2 separate regions of the Homo sapiens genome follow, and region 1 is linked to region 2. Evidence: promoter capture Hi-C in human tissues and cell types (Jung and others, 2019). All regions are on one chromosome and are shown on one strand. The core of a region is centred on a gene start or on the middle of the fragment in contact, and the rest is flanking DNA. Distances in the headings are between cores, read along the strand shown. Region 1 overlaps ARMC3 (armadillo repeat containing 3). Region 2 holds the start of COMMD3-BMI1 (COMMD3-BMI1 readthrough).

What was found. The method cuts DNA at HindIII sites, captures the fragments that hold promoters and counts their contacts. A contact is called where the count stands out against the background at its distance.
Region 1: a contact is called between a fragment that was not itself captured here and the fragment with the promoter of COMMD3-BMI1 in region 2, in 2 of the 25 tissues and cell types used here (hippocampus and mesendoderm cells).

Annotation. Positions count from the first base shown.
Region 1 is chr10:23,035,456-23,038,825 of GRCh38, reverse strand. It overlaps ARMC3 (armadillo repeat containing 3), which reads right to left. Exons shown (of 19, transcript NM_173081.5): 19 at 303-1,556. The coding sequence ends at 1,347. The region is part of intron 2 of LOC107984215 (a long non-coding RNA gene); the gene reads left to right. Among named protein-coding and RNA genes, the nearest start is that of MSRB2, 58 kb to the left of the region's middle. The HindIII fragment of the contact is 3,149 bases long and covers 1-2,861 here.
Region 2 is chr10:22,314,780-22,318,346 of GRCh38, reverse strand. It overlaps COMMD3-BMI1 (COMMD3-BMI1 readthrough), which reads right to left and starts at 1,959. Exons shown (of 14, transcript NM_001204062.2): 1 at 1,791-1,959; 2 at 352-463; 3 at 179-242; 4 at 41-75. The coding sequence starts at 1,929. COMMD3 (COMM domain containing 3) reads right to left here and starts at 1,959. Exons shown (of 8, transcript NM_012071.4): 1 at 1,791-1,959; 2 at 352-463; 3 at 179-242; 4 at 41-75. The coding sequence starts at 1,929. RefSeq lists an enhancer at 1,412-1,711 and a silencer at 1,982-2,101. The HindIII fragment of the contact is 4,167 bases long and covers 1-2,337 here.

The sequences.
Region 1 (3,370 bases), core at 38-2,537, 720 kb before region 2:
TGGCTGCCAGTGAGTATAGAGTCAAATTTCCATTCATCTCTAACAAATGCACTGCATTTTATTGAATTCTAATCTTTGGATCCAAATCTTATTCCTGCTTTGTTGGACTTTTCTACACTTACGCCTGCATTTCATTTATTTTCTTTTTCCTTCTTATATCCCATGGATCTTTGTAATCCACTTTAAATACTTTCTGGATCAAAACAGACTTTAAAATGCAGAGGAAAAACCTACAAATAGGTTTGTATCCCATAAGCCACGCTCTAATTTCATAAAATTCTATGATAAATATAATTACCACGCCATTTGAAATAAATTTATTCTGAAATAAAGAATTATATTATTTGAAATTACAAATTAATACAAAATAATCTTAGCTTTAATTTCTAAAATCAAATTCACTTTAAAACGTCTTCTAGGAAAATGACTATACAGGTCAACACTGGACTTTAAGCGTGACTAGGCAATATGTACTTCACGAGATTAACCACATTAGTAGTTTTTGTCTTATCATTTGAAATGTGAATTTACTCCCCATTTTGTGCTCAATACTAAAACACAATTCCTCAGCAAAGATTTGCTCTACCTTTATGCTTCAAAGTTTTCCAAAAAATAAAAATTTTTTAGTTCTATAAATTGAAAATAATATATTAATGGCCCAGCATTAAAATGTGGAAGAGCAAATCAGAATTGTTTTTAGCTGAAGGTATGTTTCCAAGCTAACACAGACAAGATGAAACCAAAACCATTTTATGGAAATATACTTTAGAAATATTTTTAATTCACTATATTAAAGTGTTTTTAATGATGAATTTTTAAAAATAGAAACAAAAATTTTTAGAAAGGAATTTGTAACACTCAGATCTGTGTTTATTCTATCTAAACTATCAAAATCTTAAATGAAACTGAGACAAGGTGATTGCAAATACTAAAAATTCACTTAGTTTGCTTAACTGAGCATGCCTGAAGCATTCTGGGCATGAAAGATGACAGTCATGAGGCCACAGTGTTGTCCTGGGTGCAGCAGCTGAGTGCTACATGTGATTCCTAAATGACAGAGACGCTCCTCAGGACACAGTGGGCTGGATGAATTTCGACAACAATCAGCTTTATGTGAGGGTCAGTGAGCGGAAAATGACCTAATAAGACAGAACTCTTGCCAAAAGCCTGAAATCAGAAGCACAGCAAAGTTCACTCCAAGCTTCCTAATTTCTACGCAGAGAAAACATTTCTAATACTTTTATTTAAAGTTTTTATTTAAAGAGATAAAATCAATTTGGAGAATGTCTTAGAGAGTGTACACAGTGAATTTCTTGTTTGAGCCTCTCTTGTGTTCGTCTGATGGCTTAAATGAATCTGTAAAGATCAGCCTCTCGACTTCTCAACTTCATCAGTCCACCTGGATGGAACATGAGGTCAATCACGTACATCTCAGGAGCGGGGAGGCCCCCAATCACTCCCTTCCGAGAGTCATTCTGCAGCATGACTTCATTCCACGCTCTACCGTACTCTCCGCGAACTAGGGAGCAACCAATGCCAATTCTATCAGCCAGAGCCTGCAGGAGAAAACAAGAGATCAACCAAGGGTGGTGCGGGAGAGGGGTGGGGAATATCCTATTTGTAATTGCACACCTTGATTGAAGGTGAAATACACAAGTCTTGCAAAGAAATGTTTAGATAGGAGGCTGAAAGATGTGGACTATTGGTATAGGGGCCAATCAAATGTGATAAATTCACTCAAGATTCTGTAGATGCAAAATCTCTGTGTAGGTCCTGCTGGGAAGTCACCTTTTTCAGGTAGTAACACTATTGTATCAGATGGCGAGGGTGATTGGAAAAAAGCTATTCTGTGCACTCTTTGCACTAGTGCATCTATCCATCTTTCCAAACTTCTGGGCTCTCCCTGGCTGTGAAATGCAGTGGGACTGAATGGAGGCATCACCCTGGGGCGGGGGCTCTTTCCAGCTAAACTATTCTGCGTGCCATGGGGCAGGAGAGGCAGAACTGTGGGTGCCTGGTCCTAGGGCTCCTTGCTGCCACCTCACCAGAGACTACGTTGGTTCCTTGGAAACTGTCTCTTGAATTTGCCCTCTGATGATTCCTGATTTTGAGGTTATTAAAACAAAGTATCTCTAATCTGGAGACTACTCAGCCACTTTATAGTGAACAGGAGAGCTGGCTTAGCCTGCCTGGGTCTGGATTATAGCCCAGATCTGAGACCGACTAGCCGCGCACCCCAGCAAGGGACTTGGCATCTCTGGGCTTCCATGGCTTCATCTGAGAAATGAGGGGAGCAACAGTACTTTCTTCATAAGGTATTAGGAAGATGAAGTCAATTATCTGTCCAGTGCTTAAAGCAGCGAACACCAGCAAGGCTACATACTCAGTTAATACTACATAGCACCAGAAGGCAGGAATTGTGTTGTTTTAGAACCCTGTATATGTATATATTAATTTATTTATTACTGACAATATAATGACTGCACCAGGTCACTGTGTCTTGGGTGGACCATGATGATTAAGACATGGTTATCATTTTTAGAGCCTTACATTCTACATAGACCTACTGGTAAAGAATCAACTATAACACAAATAGTATCTGAATGTATGGCACTCATAGTTCAGTGGGGTAGAGAGACAAAAATAAATATATAATTATAAGATGTTTCCAAAAGTAACACTCCGTGTCAAAGCCTTGTAAATCATCAAAACAACCAACCCTGTGGAATAGATGCTATTGTTTTCCCCGTTTTATAGAGGGTAAAACTGAGGTCGCATAATTTTCCTAAGGTCATGGTATGTGGTGACGGAAAGTGAGAGCGAGGGCATCTGTCTCTGGAGTCTGAGTTTTTAATGTCAGGGTAATAACTGCTGCTGACTGAGGTGAAGGAATTCCCATCTGAAACTCCCTGTTTTCTTTGTGAAGTGGGACACAAGGTCACCTGCTTAGAGGGGAGCAGTGCAGATGGAAGGGCTTGGCAAAGGGCAGATGTGGGGCCCAGTAGCTGAAGGAAATAGGAAAAAGCCTGCCACTAGGAGCTGGGAAAGGGTGGCCTATAGAGGAGTGGCCTGTAGGTGGTGTGTATGAGTGAAAAGACAGGCAATCAGAACAAGGCCTGGTTGACAAGGCAGAGGGGGAAGGATGGGAGGAGAGGGAATGGGGGAAATTAGTGAGTGAGTGAATTATTAGGGCTGTGGTATATTTGTCTATCCTGCCTAGGGAAGAAAGTAAAGCCAAACAGGCCAAAAAACTGGAAGAAAATAAGGGAGATAAAGAGTATATATAGAAGGGCTGAAGGATATAGGAGGAGGGGAAGGATAAGATATTTTACCAGTGAGTATTGGTGTTCAGAATTTCAGTGGTGGGAGA
Region 2 (3,567 bases), core at 710-3,209:
GTGAAAAGTGCCTCAGCTTGACACCTTATACAGTACCTACCTTCCCAGTAGGATTTCTAGGGAATTCTTATTATTCTGGAGAGAAAAAAGAAAGCAAGAAAGAAAGAAAAAAAAACATCTTTACAAACAAAGTAAAAGAAAAATAGTACTGTTAATTAAAAATTTTAAAGTAAGTAACCTGATATTCCGTGCAAAACAGTTCTATTCGCTCTCTGTCAAATTTACAGTCTTCTAGATAAGTGCTAGAAGAAAGAAAAAAAAAGCCAAAGTTCTGTCTCCATTTTTAAAACTGAAATTGAAATCATTAAGGTAGTATTTGAAAATAAATGGATATTTAAATAAATCCTGTACCTTAGAGTTGACTTGTCAGCTCGGTGCTTTCCTGCCTCTAGTATGTAAGTTGCAGCTGCTGCATGACAATGTTTTAAAACCACTGGGTCGATATGTTTCAAGTCTGGATGATCTAAAATAAATTAACTTCCAGTGATGCCTATGATAATAAATTCTTTACAGTCATGTTCCAAAAAGGATATTTTAATTTGGGTTTAAAAACCCTTTAACAAGATTAAAAACATCAACTATAAGGACAGTCAATTATAAGTAAATGAGATGAGCAACAAGATCAAGTGAAAAACAATAAAAAGAACACAACAAGAACTCTACTATTACTAGCTTCAATTAACTTATTTTGCCTTAATATTTTTACTATTAAAAAATATTATAGCCCCCAAAGAAAATATAACAATGCAATGGTCATTCTAACACTGGAGTAAATTCAAAGGAAAAACAAGATAAATATTTTACATTGTGTCAATTTTAGAATAAACTTCCATCCTAAAAATGATGAGTTTAGGGTAACCGGCTCCATGAACAAATACATCAAGGGGGTAGAAGGTAGGGCATGAGTTCAGAATATAAGATACAAATTTCAAAATTATATTAGTACTTTCAGGGTTTGACAGTCATTTTTTTTTTGAGATTAACCCAGGTGGTGGTTACTATTTTCGTTTAAGAACTTCCACTTTCATACTTTTTGTACAAGTGTTTAGTTCATGAAACTACAGAAAAAAAACAAAAATTTGAATTGTTGGGATATTTATATTTAAGAAAATCATCTAAAAGCGATCGGTCTTAAAATATGTCTTCAATCCATACTGACACTGCACCTCCGCAGTCACTGACCGGATCGCTTAAAAGACACTCGCATCCTGGTAACTGGGGCGGAACAAAGTATTGTGCATCATAGTTTAAGGTTCTAGGCGTAGAACCTGTGTAAACATGCTGAACTAGAGCGCTGGAGTGATCATAGCAACTTGAGGTATGCTCTAAGTTGGCAAATGTCAACACTGTCTGACCTAGTAATTACTTCGGAAACAGACCCTTAAACCTTTGCTAGCCTAGCCCTGGAAGCTTGAATTGCAGGGAGCTCCCCAGATGAAGTCCAACTGTCAAAACAGCCGCAGCCTCAGACAAGGCTAAACACCTTAGATGTTTAGGCCACAAACAAGACTTGAACACCGGCTTTACAAAAGAACAAAGAGACTGGGAGGGAAACCGGGCCAGGAACGTGGAGTTGGCTCTATGCAGGTGCCAAGTGGGGCCAAAACAATGCTCAGAGTCTGCTCCGAGTCCTGGCAGAGCCACGTCCCCAACACTCCGTCCGGAGCGAAGGGCAAAGCCCGGAGACTTCCTCTTCCCGGGGCTTTCCCCTTCTCGCTCCGCCGGCTCCTCTTCTCCGAGCGCCCCTCCACCCCGGCGGATCCAGCTCCGAGCCGAGCCGAGCGGCTTACCTAACACGGCCTCGTCCGCCTGGGCGTCCAGCAGACTCTGGAATGCCGCCCGGAGGAGAAGCGTGAAGGCGTTGGAGTCGAAGGAGCGGGGATCCGCCAGCATCTGGAAGCCTTTCTGCACAGACTCCGAGAGCTCCATTGTGAGCGCGCCGTGACCTTCGACACGCACACCACGTGACACGCGCCGCGCGCTCAGCTGATGCGGCCGCGCGCGCACGCGGCTCGGGGCGGCTGGCGGCGGCGCGGGCTGCGGGGCCTCCCCGCCCGCCTCCGCGCCCGCGCGCGGGTCCCGCGCCCCCAGCCGCCGCCTACGGCCTCCCACCGTTTCCGTCCAGCTCTCGCTTGTCCAGCGCAGGCCGCGGGAGCTGCCGAGCCTTGGCGAGAAGGGCGGCCTCGGGCGTTTTGTGGACGCGCTCGGCGCTTTCTCCTTGGTTCGGCGCTTACCTCGGACGGCCACCAGCTCGGTTCCCTGAGAGACCCCGGGGAGACTGCGGACGGTGTCGGGATCCCGGCCCCCGCCTCCCGCAAACGGCGTCCTCCCCGCTCCTCGCTCTGCGCGAATCCTGCGGGAAGCTCCGATCTCAGGCAACTGGATTTTGCTTTTGTGGTTTTTTGTTTGTTTTGTTTGTTTTTTAGCTCACCAGCTTAACCTCGCAGCACTGCCCTTTTATGAGACTGTAAGACATCTAATTATGTGATTCTTGCTTATTTTTACTTTTTTTTTTTTGTCATTTCTGGAATACGGCAGTAGTGTCCTTCCTGCATGGGGGGTGTGTACACATGCACGCATACATAGAGTTCCTGTATGCACTGCACTCCAGCAATCGGATTAATAAATTATTCATGAACAGATTTGACAGGATTATTAACAATTTTATATGCCGCTGCAAATAAAGCCAACTGCCATACACATTTTGTGCTACTCACCACATCTATGGGTCCCGTTTTAGTTGCTCTATAGAATCTGCATAAATACGTTTTTATTAAACAGCTACCTTAGTAAAGTACAGTTAGGAATGGCAAGATCTTTATTAGAAGTGAGTTACTGTTTAGGATGCTCATACCTTTAAAGATTCAAATACTGTATAAAGTTTAACTTCCTCTCTATTTCTACGAAGTTGGTTTAGAGAACAAGAATGATTCTTTAAAAAACCCGTGAAGCAAAGTAGATTAGGTATTTTTAATCAAAAGCACTTGAAAAGTTAAAAAATGCAAGTTCTTGAAGGGTGGAGGGAAGGGATGCGGAACAACAAAGATGTTTTAGTCTTCAGGAGCGATTATTTGCAACATTAGACCCAAAGTGAAACATTATTTTCTTTTTCTAACTTAGATGTCTGTTTTAAAAATTTTTGATGGATACAGTTGACATTTACCTTGGCACCAATACATAAAGTGTACCTCATTTCACAACAGGATGCAAATGGAGTAAGCATCAGTAACAGATTGAGTAACTACTCAGCCCTCCTTTGAAAGCTTTAAAAGGCACGTGCAGTGGCTCCTCACTCGGTGAGAATATAGTAGCAGTGAAGGATTTAAAAGTCTCCCTAGAGTCTTTATGAAACAAGCACCTATTAATCATGTTCATCTTTTCTTCCCATCACTCATCTTCCTAATTTGTTTCTCATTAGTAGTAAAATGTCAGTTGAAAAACTTCATGATACCTGATTACATAGAGAATAGTCAGGACAGAGTTGTGTAAATGTTCAACAATATTAACAACACCCAAGCTTATTATGTTTATTACACATGTATTTTATGACCTAGTGTAACGTTGATT